2 separate regions of the Homo sapiens genome follow, and region 1 is linked to region 2. Evidence: promoter capture Hi-C in human tissues and cell types (Jung and others, 2019). All regions are on one chromosome and are shown on one strand. The core of a region is centred on a gene start or on the middle of the fragment in contact, and the rest is flanking DNA. Distances in the headings are between cores, read along the strand shown.

The links. Contacts are between HindIII fragments. The study calls those that stand out against the background at their distance.
Region 1: a fragment that was not itself captured here is called in contact with the fragment with the promoter of KCNQ2 in region 2 in 3 of the 25 tissues and cell types used here (H1 embryonic stem cells, dorsolateral prefrontal cortex and lymphoblastoid cells).

The regions. Positions count from the first base shown.
Region 1 is chr20:63,938,113-63,943,404 of GRCh38, forward strand. UCKL1 (uridine-cytidine kinase 1 like 1) reads right to left here. Exons shown (of 15, transcript NM_017859.4): 9 at 2,998-3,096; 10 at 2,838-2,931; 11 at 2,682-2,744; 12 at 2,482-2,604; 13 at 2,266-2,373; 14 at 2,038-2,194; 15 at 1,717-1,943. The coding sequence ends at 1,864. MIR1914 (microRNA 1914) reads right to left here and starts at 3,432; the gene lies at 3,353-3,432. MIR647 (microRNA 647) reads right to left here and starts at 4,614; the gene lies at 4,519-4,614. RefSeq lists enhancers at 4,206-4,919, 4,920-5,292. The HindIII fragment of the contact is 6,155 bases long and covers 1-5,292 here.
Region 2 is chr20:63,470,327-63,475,256 of GRCh38, forward strand. KCNQ2 (potassium voltage-gated channel subfamily Q member 2) reads right to left here and starts at 2,329. Exons shown (of 17, transcript NM_172107.4): 1 at 1,842-2,329. The coding sequence starts at 2,137. RefSeq lists an enhancer at 1-158. The HindIII fragment of the contact is 7,504 bases long and covers 1-4,930 here.

The sequences.
Region 1 (5,292 bases), core at 1,021-3,520, 470 kb after region 2:
CTTCCGCCTCCTGCGTTCAAGCGATTCTTGTACCTCAGCCTCCCGAGTAGCTGGGACTAAAGGCGCGCCACCACGCCCAGCTAATTTTTTGTATTTTTAGTAGAGACGGGGGTTTCACCATGTTGGCCAGGCTGGTCTCGAACCTATGTAGGCCTCCCAAAGTGCTGGGATTACAGGTGTGAGGCAGCGCGCCCGGCCTATGTTAAGTATTTTATATATGGGATTCTTACAGAGAAATGTTAACAGCAAGCCGAGCACTGGACACTGGGTGGCGGGCAGCAAGACCCTTGCCAGGGAGGGTTGTCGGCCCTGTTTCTCCTGGTCCAGGGGACCGCGGTTAACAGGCGCTGCGGCAAAACTCTCCGTCCGCCCAGCGCCCCAGGAATCTCCTCCGTCTCCAAGACGGGGTCGGACCACCCTCCCCGCTCCCCCCGGCTATGCCTTCCTTGCGCCCCGCTCTCCGTGACCGAGGAACGCCAGGAAGGGACCACTTCTAGCGCCAGCCCCGCTGCTCAGGGTCGGGTGGGGGGCGGGGCCAGCGCGGGGGCGGGGCCGGCTCAGGGGCGTGGTCACTCGGTGGGGCCCAGCGGGACCTGGCCTACCAGGCGGAGCGGGGGCTGGGCAGGGGCGTGGCCAATCGGGACCGGTGGGGCGGGCGAGTGGCGGGAGCGCTGCACCCGCAGATGGGCCCCCCACGTGGGGACCAGCGCCCACCCGGCCTGGTCGCATGGGCAATGGGAGACCCCACTGCAGCGCAAGGTCTCGCGGCATCTGGGAAGACCGGCCTTACGCCGTCCCTCCCTTCGTCAGCAGACCCCTGTCCAGGATCCGGGATCCGGCATAATCGAGGTGCCAGGCTCCGAGGACGCCACGCTTTTGGCCGTGGACTTCCACGCAGAAAGACACTGGCGCCTGAGAGGACGGGGACGACCGTGTCCCGTGTCAGATGCGCCTGGCCCACGGCTGAGTCCCCAGCATCAGCCCTCAGCTCCACGGCTGAGCCCCGGGAGGCTGATTCAGTTATCTGGGCCTCTCCGGGGCCCGACGTGTGGGCGCCGCGCGTGCACCTCCTCTTCCTCAGTAAACCACGGCGGCGACTCCTCTCGGGGAGCCCGGGGGGGGCCTGCTCGGAAAGCAGGGTGGGCAGGACCTAAGGGAACCCACGCTTGCGGGCGTGGGCACGGCAGAGAGCACGGGATGCGGGTGGGCCTCCAGGTCTGGAGGGGTGAGCGAGGCGGGCCCTGAGCAGCAGTGGCTCCGGGCTCGTGGGCCCCGGGTGGCCCCGCCTCCAAGCGCAGGCCCCCACTTCCGCCCTGGTCTGCCTCCTGGCTTTGCTGCCTCCAGCGACTTGTCCTGACGGGAAGGACCCTCCCCCCCCCCAACTGTGGGGAGGACCCTGATGGTACAAATTTGTGGGTGGGGGCAAAACAGCCTGCCTCTTGTGAGACCCAGAGCACCAGGGGGCCCTGTCCCCTCCCTAGGTCCAGGCCAGGTGGCCACCAAGCTATGGGTTCTAGGGGCCCCATCTAGCAGAGCTAGGAGCTGCAGGGCCCAGTTCTACCCCTTCCTTCATCTGGCACAAGTGCAAGACTGGGAATGCTTGGTCCTGCAGGGGAGAAGGCAGGGCCCTCAGCTCCCTCCCTCCCTCCCCATGGGAGTCTCCACAAATGCATGCCTCAGCCAGGACACCTCTCCTGTGCTGTAACCAATCACACCTTCATTTTTCTAAAGCTTTATTTATTTTATAAAATGCATAGAATAAATTATACTAGTAACATTTTAAAAATTAACATCTTTGTATTCAGCAGTCCTGGGTCAGGAGGCAGGAGGAGGGTGGTGGGGACGGGATGGCTCACTGGGCAGCTAACCCGTGTAGGCCACTTCCTCCTCGTCACTGCCATCGGGGACCGCGTCTGTCCCAAAGTAGCGGTCGCCAAAGTTCCCTGGAAAAAGGGGGGGGGGGGTCCAGTGTGGTGGGGCCTCCCAGGGCCACCCACCCTGCCCTCATGTGCGGCTGAAGGGCCCGGGCAGCCTCACCAATGCCTGGGATGATGCGGAAAAGGTCATTGACCCGCTTGTCCACCGCCGTGGTGATGATTCTCACTCGCGGAAATGCATAGGCCACTGAGTGCACGCCCATCTCTGCCATGAGCAGCGACAGCAAAAAGATCTTGTCCTCAGGCACGTCGTGGTCCTACCGAGTGTATTGGGCAGGTAAATCCCACCTCTGCCTGAACCTGCCCCGCCTACCCAGGGCTCACTCACCAGGAGCACGCGCACTGCCATCATGGCCGCCGCGCCCGTGGACACGGTGCAGTCCATGAGGATCACGTGGTCATCGCTGATGTCCTTGGGCAGCCTCAGGTAGTGGAGCTGCGGGCAGCAGGGGTCAGGCTGCAGGTGGGGCTCCCTGCGTCCCCTTGCTGTGAGCTCCCTCTGCCCCCTACCCCCGGGCTCATCACCCCGGCTGCCCCCAGGCACCTCGGGCTCCCCGGTAAGCTGGTTGGTCTGGATGAGGATGGTGCCGATGCGCACGTCTTTGCACACAGCGCGCAGCGCGGGCTCCATGGTTTCACCGGCGCGCAGAATGGACACACCGGTGATCTGCGGGGAGGGGAGGCTAAGCGCCCACATCCCGCCCCAGCAGCCTGTCCCGCGCCCAGGTGTGCCCAGGCAGGTACCTGCTTCCCCGCATAGCACTTGCCCGCATAGTCCTGCCCCTGCGGGGTCTGTACGACGCAGTCCTGTGGGGTGCAGGGTGAGGACTCCGGTGAGCGCAGGGAGCTCGCACCGGCTCCAAGACCCACCCTCCACCTCGCGGGCTACGGGCTACGAACCTGAAAGGGCAGGAAGGAGAGCGCGTGCTCGATGAGCAGCCGCATCAGTCTCTTGGAGTAGAAGATGAACTCGTCGCGACTGGTCTCCTTGTCCCTGTGGGGCCAACAGTTGAGCGGGAGCACGCGCCCGGGGCCGCCCCGTCCCCAGGTGGGCCCTCACCTGATGATGGTGTGCATGCCCCGTACCTGCGGCGTGCTCTTCAGGACGCTCAGCGTCCGGGGCAGCGGGTGGCACTGGTGTGCCGAGGCCAGCGCAGCCCTGGGGACAAACCGATGGGGAACACTCAAGAAGGGGGTCTTTTCCCAGAGCCCTCCCTCCCCACAGGACGGCTGTGCGTCACTGTGAGGGGAACACACGGGCCAGGCACAGCACGAGGTGCAGAGCGGGCCTGACTTCTGCCTGGGGCTGAGCTGGGGGGAGACGTCGCCCTACCTGAGCTGTCAGGCAAAGGCGAAAGATGGCGGCGAACAACGGGGCAAGCTCACCATCAGGCAGAAAGCTAGCGGGGTAGGCTGTGAGGGCCCCTCCCAGTGCGGGACCCCTCCTGCGCTAAGAGGAAGCAGAAGTGGGCCGGGCACAGGGCGGGCTCACACGTGCTGATAGGTGTCATACCCCAGAATGGGTAGCTTGTCCCCAGCCTCTCCCCGGGGGAACTAAAGCTTTGTGGGGTCAGGCCCCGCCCTGGCTCCTCCCCGAGGTGGTGCGCGGCCCCTCAAGAGAGGGGGGTGGGGGGCAAAGCTGGCTCAGTGTCTCTTGGCTGTCCCGTCCCGCCCCGCTGCCCAAGCCTGGGGATGGCCGGGGCAGCAGCAGGTCTAGGAGCGGGCAGGAAAAGGGCGGGGTGGAGGCAAGAAAGAGGTGGGACAGGGAGGAGGCAAAGCCGGAAAGGGGCATGACAGGGGCAGGGAATGGGGCGGGGCAGGAAAGGGGGTGATGCAGGGGCAGGAAGAGGAAAGCGACAGGCCACAGAATTGGGTGTGGCAGGGGAAGGAAAGAGGCAGGGCACGGAATTGGGTGTGGCAGGGCAGAAAAGAGGCGTGACAGCGGCAGGGAAAGGGGCGGGGCCGGGAATGGGGTGTGGCAGGGCAGAAAAGAGGCGTGACAGCGGCAGGGAAAGGGGCGGGGCCGGGAATGGGGTGTGGCAGGGCAGAAAAGAGGCGTGACAGCGGCAGGGAAAGGGGCGGGGCCGGGAATGGGGTGTGGCAGGGCAGAAAAGAGGCGTGACAGCGGCAGGGAAAGGGGCGGGGCCGGGAATGGGGTGTGGCAGGGCAGAAAAGAGGCGTGACAGCGGCAGGGAAAGGGGCGGGGCCGGGAATGGGGTGTGGCAGGGCAGAAAAGAGGCGTGACAGCGGCAGGGAAAGGGGCGGGGCCGGAAATGGGGTGTGGCAGGGCAGAAAAGAGGCGTGACAGCGGCAGGGAAAGGGGCGGGGCAGGAGCAGGAAAGAGGGCCTAGCGGGAGCAGCGGGGCAAGGGGCTACGGGAAGGCGGGTCACACAGCAGCACCACGGAGCACACTGCTCACATATCCCAACGTAGCTTCCTCTGCTTGCCAGGTGAAGAGCATGTTCAGGGAGGGAACAAGGCAGGAAACGGGGGTTTACAGAGAGAAGGAAGAGAACAAAGAGAAGGCTGCTTAGTTGGGGAGCAGGGCGTTCCCCGCAGGCCTGAGGAGGAGTGTGGGCGGTCAGGCCCCCAGCCCTGCCTGACCCTCCCTCCTGCCCCCGACCAAGGCTTCCTGGGGCTGAAGGAAGTGAGTGCAGCCACAGGCCAACACTTCCTTGGCTGACCAGACGACGGAAAATGTGTCTGGCTGCGTTCAGGTGTTTTTCCAAGTTTGAAACCCTGGAAAGTTTTTCCTCTCAGAACAAAAGCTTCAGGAGGAACCTGACGGGACAAGACCTGCGGGTTCCTAGGCCGAGGAGAGGGCCAAGCGGAGACTCATGCAGGCACCGGAAGCTGGACGGCTGGTGGACGGGCCCTGGAGGCATTTCCAACATTTGGCAAACTCTTTGGAGGGCTCTGAATGTGAGGGCTCTCCCTCCAGGTGGCTCAGTCAGGAGCCTCCCAACCCACAGAAGGCAGGGAGAAGGGCAGGTCCCTTGTGGCTGACCCCCCTGCATGCCTGCCCTTGGGGAGGGACAGTGGGATGCGGCCCCGGCCCAGCCCAAGCTTCTTGCTGCAGTTGCCCAGTTCCTGCTGGCAGAGCTGTGCGGGCTGCGAGGACAGAGCTGGGGCAAGCAGGACCCGGGTGGGTGGGAGGACAGGCGCGAGGCCCTCCACCTGCAACCAGGGAAAGCTGACTGGTCCGTGAGGCTGGGCACAGGAGGTACAGCAGGCTCCCTGGCTGCTGGGACATGTCTGTAGTCACTGCCCCAGAGGCCTGGCAGTGCTGGCTCAGGAGGACAGCTGTGCTCTCTGGGGTCAAATCCCATAGACAGACTCAGGAGTCAGGGGAGC
Region 2 (4,930 bases), core at 1,079-3,578:
GAGGGTCTCGCCTGAAGCCCCCGCATGCTGCTGCTCTATCTTAGAGGGGGCCCGTCCGGACTGGGGGTGGTCAGGAAGAGACGGCTCAGACCCCACATGTGCAAGTGTCCCCATGCTTTGCCCCAGTTCTGGACTGCTGCTCTCAGGAGGCAGAGACAGGAAGGAGAGACAGAGGGGCTGACCCACGCAGGCCCAGGCAGGGGGCGGCCATGCGGAGAGCTGCTGACCCAACGGGAAACCTCAGGAACAGCCACGCTGGGCCCTTGGATCATGGACTCAAAGCAGAACCAACCCTGGGTCAGACGCAGAGCGGGGCGCTGGCCAGGCTGTCAGGGCAGGAGGGTTGTGGGGGTGGGTTCTATCCTACCCTCCTCCGGGGAGTCACCTTGGGCAGGGACCTGGCTGACCAGTACCGGCCCACCAAGAGCCCCTTTGGCCCCCAGCCAGGTGGGGGCCATCAGGGGAGGCCATTCCTGAGAACACAGAAGCTCATCTGGGGATTCGGGAATGAACCCTGGACTGGAAAAGCTAGACTCACCTCCTGGGGGCCACAGGGCTTCCAGGACCCAGGAGGTCGGAGAAGCTTCTGCTTGGGGAGTCCCAGGCTGGGTGCCCAGGGGCCCTCCACGGAGACACCCTCCCTGTAAGCGGCCTGGCATTTCCCTCTGGGATCTTCTCCCTACCCCAGAACCCTCTCATATCACAGTCCACGGAGGGTCTGCTAAGGGCACACTCAAGGCCACACGCAGGCTGGGGCACACTCGTGGGGCACACACCCCTCTCGGCCCAGGTGGGCGCCCGACCAGCTTGTGACCAGTCTGCCCCTCACTCCCATCCCAAAATGCCTCTCACACAAAATGGCCGGTCCCGGAGCTCAGCGGGTCCCTTGTTCAGCTGGGATGGGAGAGCAAGCGCCCTGGCGCGGGGAGGCTGTGCACACCGGCCGCACAGGCCGCACACGCAGCGGGCCGTGCAATTCCACATGCGAACACCCAGGTGCACACGGACGCAGGCTTCGGCCGCCCCCCGCCAGCCCTGCCCCAGGAGGCAGCCGTTCCCTGAGCCTCGCCCGGGAAGAGGGGACAGCCCCTTCCAGGCCCAGGGCTGGGGGTCCCAGGTCTGCCGCAGCCCCTCCCCCGGGCCTCGCTCTGCCAAGGAGGGGTCCTGAGCCCGGGATGTGCACGGGGGCGGCCGGCGGCTGCAGAGATGGGACAGCGCAGGAGCTGAGCGCAGGAGCTGAGGGGGTTCGCGGGGCCAGGGAGGGGCGTCGGCGCCGAGGGGGCAGGACAGACAGCTGCGCTCAGCCCGGGCTGGGGTGGGGGGGTCATGGGAGGGCCCCTCCCCCATCTCAGGAACCCAGAAGCTCACCCTAGTCTGAGGGAGAGCGGCTCGGGAGGATGGCGGAGGACAGGCCAGACCCCTCCCCCCCGCCCTCGCTTGGTCGGGCGGCCCCAGCCCCGCGGGTCCCCGAGAGTCCCGGAGAGTCCAGACCCAGCGCTGCCGCCGTCCCTCCCCGGCCGGCCCTTTGTTCGGCGCAGAGGCCGCGGGGAGGGGCCTCCCAGGCTGAGGAGGGGGCTGGGGCGGCCGCACGTCTCTGTCCTGCGGGCCTGGAGCCCCCACCCCGACCTGAGCGGCCCCGACCCCGGAATCCTTCCTGCCCGCGCGCTGTACAATCGCTCTCCGGTCTCGGCCCAGCACTCCCGCCGGGGAGCGCCGGCCCCGGACCCAGACCCAGGGGCAGGGAGCCAAACCCGCCGCAGCCAGCCTGGCCGGGGTCGCCGATGGGGTCGCCGATGGGGGTCGCCATGGGGGTCGCCACGGGGGCCCCGCCGGCCACTCACACGTAGGCGTGGTAGATGAACGCCCAGCCGCGCGGCCGCTCCAGCACGTTGTAGAGGAAATTCTGCAGCTTGCGGTAGAAGGCGTTGCGCTTGGGGGGCTTCCCGGCGCCCGCGCCGCCCGCGCGAGGTTTGCTGAGGATGCTGCCGCGCTTGGGGGCCTCGGAGCCGGCGATCAGCAGCGCCCCGTCCCGGGTGGAGTCGGGCGCGCCGGGGTCCAGCCCCACGAAGCCCACCTTCAGCTTCTTCTCCCCGCTCGGGCCGGGGTATACGCCGCCGTTGCGCGACTTCTGCACCATGGTGCCTGGCGGGAGGCGCCCCGGGTCGGGCTCAGGCTCAGCGGGGGCGGAGCGCGGGGGGCGGCGCGGGCCCCAGCCCAGGCCCCCCGGCCGGGAGCCGCATGGCCGAGGCGGCGGTTCCGCACTCCTGCCGGGCTTGGGCCGCGCGCGGAGACGCTGCGGCCACCTCGCTCCGCGCGCACCTCGGCGCCTGGCCCGCGGCCGCGCCGGCTCCGCCCGCCGCCTCGCCCCGCCCCGCGTTAACCCCCGCGACGCCAGTCGAAGGAGAGGGGAGGAGAAGAGAGGGAGGGGAAGGGAGGGGAGAGGGAGGGACGGGGAGGGGAGGGGAGGGGGGAAGGAGAGGAGAGGGGAGGAGAGAAGAGGGAAAGGGAGGGGAGGGGAGGGAGAGGGGACGGGGAGAGGGGAGACAGGAGGGGAGGGGGAGGGGAGGAGAGGGGAATGGGAGGGGAGGAGAGTGGCGGGGACGGGGAGAGGGGAGACAGGAGTGGAGGGGGGAGACAGGAGTGGAGGGGGAGGGGAGGGGGGAGAGGAGGGGGAGTGGGGGAGGGGGAGGGGAGGGCAGGGGGAGAGGAGGGGGAGGCAGAAGGGACCAAGGCCCGCGGGACCAGAGCTCTGGGCTGAGCCTGCCCAATCCCCCGGCCATGTGCACACTGACCCTGCGGTCACCTTTGAGTCCGGTAGTACTAACCAAGTGGACCTGCCTGGTGGCCCCAGCGCTCCTGGGGTCCCAGAGCGGTGCCCAGCCGCCTGAGCAGGACTGGAGTCTTCTCAGCTGGGCCCTGGGAGTGGACGCCTCCGGGAAGGGATGGGGGTAGGGGCTCTCCCCAAGACTCTGTTAGGGCTCAGCCCATGGTGACCTCATGCTCTCGGTGTCAGGGTTGCCCAGGCAGTAGGACCCCCTAGACCCCAGGGTGTGTGCAGGGAGGGTCTGTGGAGGCTGGAGGCACCCTGCAAGGAAAGCAGCCCAGGGGAAAGGGGGTGGCCACAGAGGCCGGGAGGCAAGAAGAGGAGCAAGGGCCATGGGGTGGGGGATGGGAGAGAGTCACTCCTAGAGGGCCTTGAAGCCCCCCAAGGGGCCTGGACTTAGTTATGCAGACCCCAGAAGGGGCCTGTGGCAGGGGCAGGGACTGGAGGGTGGCCCCAGGGCAGCAGACAGGCCAGCAGGAAGCCCAGTGCCACACCTCGGGACAAAGGAGGCAGATCTGTGCCTCCTGGACACAGATGGGACGGTGTTTCCTTGGGGGCAAGTGCGCGGAGGTGGCCTCCCCCCTGCCGGCAGCCATGTGTCCTGGGAGGGGTCCCTCTGGAGCTGCTGCTGGGAGACCAAGGGACCCCTGCGGCTCAGTGCTGCCCGCCCTGTGAGGTGCCCCGCCACTGGGCCTTCCTCTGCACATCCAGGAGGGGTGTCATCTTCGAGTGCGTCTCTGACTACATCCAGCCTGTTTGCACGTTCGCCTGGCACCATGGGTTCTACCCAGAGAAAGGCCCTCTGCTGAATCGCTGGCGCCGTCCTCGCAGGTGACCTGCTCATAAAACAGCCCTAACCCTGGTGCAGAGTGAGCTCTTGAGTTGTGTTTGCCCTTTGGTTTCCAGAGCTAGTGGCCACGGGGCCTGTTTTTGTTGTTGTTGTTTTGTTTTTAACTAGGCTGAATACAGAAGGGTCGGTGCAGGCAGAATGCTAACCTGTACGTTATCCAGGACGTTGGGGATAGACGGCAACTTACACAAGCTTGTGCACATCCAGGGGTACTTTCTGGATCCCCGCCTCCCTGCCTCTGTGCCCACGCATTGGCTGTGATTACCAGCATGAAGTGGGCTTGCCCCAAGCGGCTGCGGTTTCTCTCGATTGTTAAGGGAGGAGGCACCAGCCTGGTGCTTTCAGGGGAGGGAGAGGACTTCAGTATGCAGAAGGAAGAGAGCACCGTGGCATCTCCCTGCACACGCTGGCTGGTGCCGCTGGTCTTTCCCACTCACCAGAAGACCCGAGGGAGCAGCCGTAGCTCAAAATGTAAACCCTGCAGGGCTGGGGCCCCTCATCCTGTGGGGGGAAGCCCCAGACTATCCGGTGCCCCTCGGCAGTGCCCGGGCTACACGTGACCTCTCCTGGGCAAGCAGTCATCTCAGGTTTGATGTCAGAGCCCAGTGGGACCCAAGGTCAGGGCTGATCCACAGAGGATGAAGGAAAAGTGACCCCAGTTCCCGTTTGAGCAGATGCACCAGAGCTGAGATGGGAGCAAGGATTAAGGTGCTCTGGTGTCCAGGACATTGGGAGAGACAAACCTGTTCATCTTATTTTTCAGAAAAAAAAGGGGAAAACCCTGCTGAGGTCTTGGGGAGCCATCGGCTGGCTTCACAGCCTCCTGGGGGTGGCCGAGAGTGGCATCCCCCGTGGGGATGCCGGGCTGGAGGGGCCGGCTCAGGATGCAGGTGGAGCTTTGCACCCTGCAGCTCGCGGTTCTCCCGTCTACAAATGGCGTTGGCTCCAGCAGCTTTGCCACACCTTGGAAGGTTCTGGAAAGTGAATCCTGCATCAAGGCTTGAAAATCCTTGCTTCCTCCTTTGTTTAGGATGTCCTTTCAAAGAGCTAGCTCATTAATCATTTATGTTTTTAATTTTGTGTCTTGCACACCCACGGGCTACATTGTCAGCAATCTGGTTACCCGCATGCCTGCCCCCTGTCCCCTCCTCTGCGCCCAGGCAAAGTGGGTCGTGAAAATGCCCAGTTGGGGTAAATTTCATCCAAGCAGGAGGAATTCCATTTATGTAAAAATAGATGGGAAAAGCGTTCAGGCT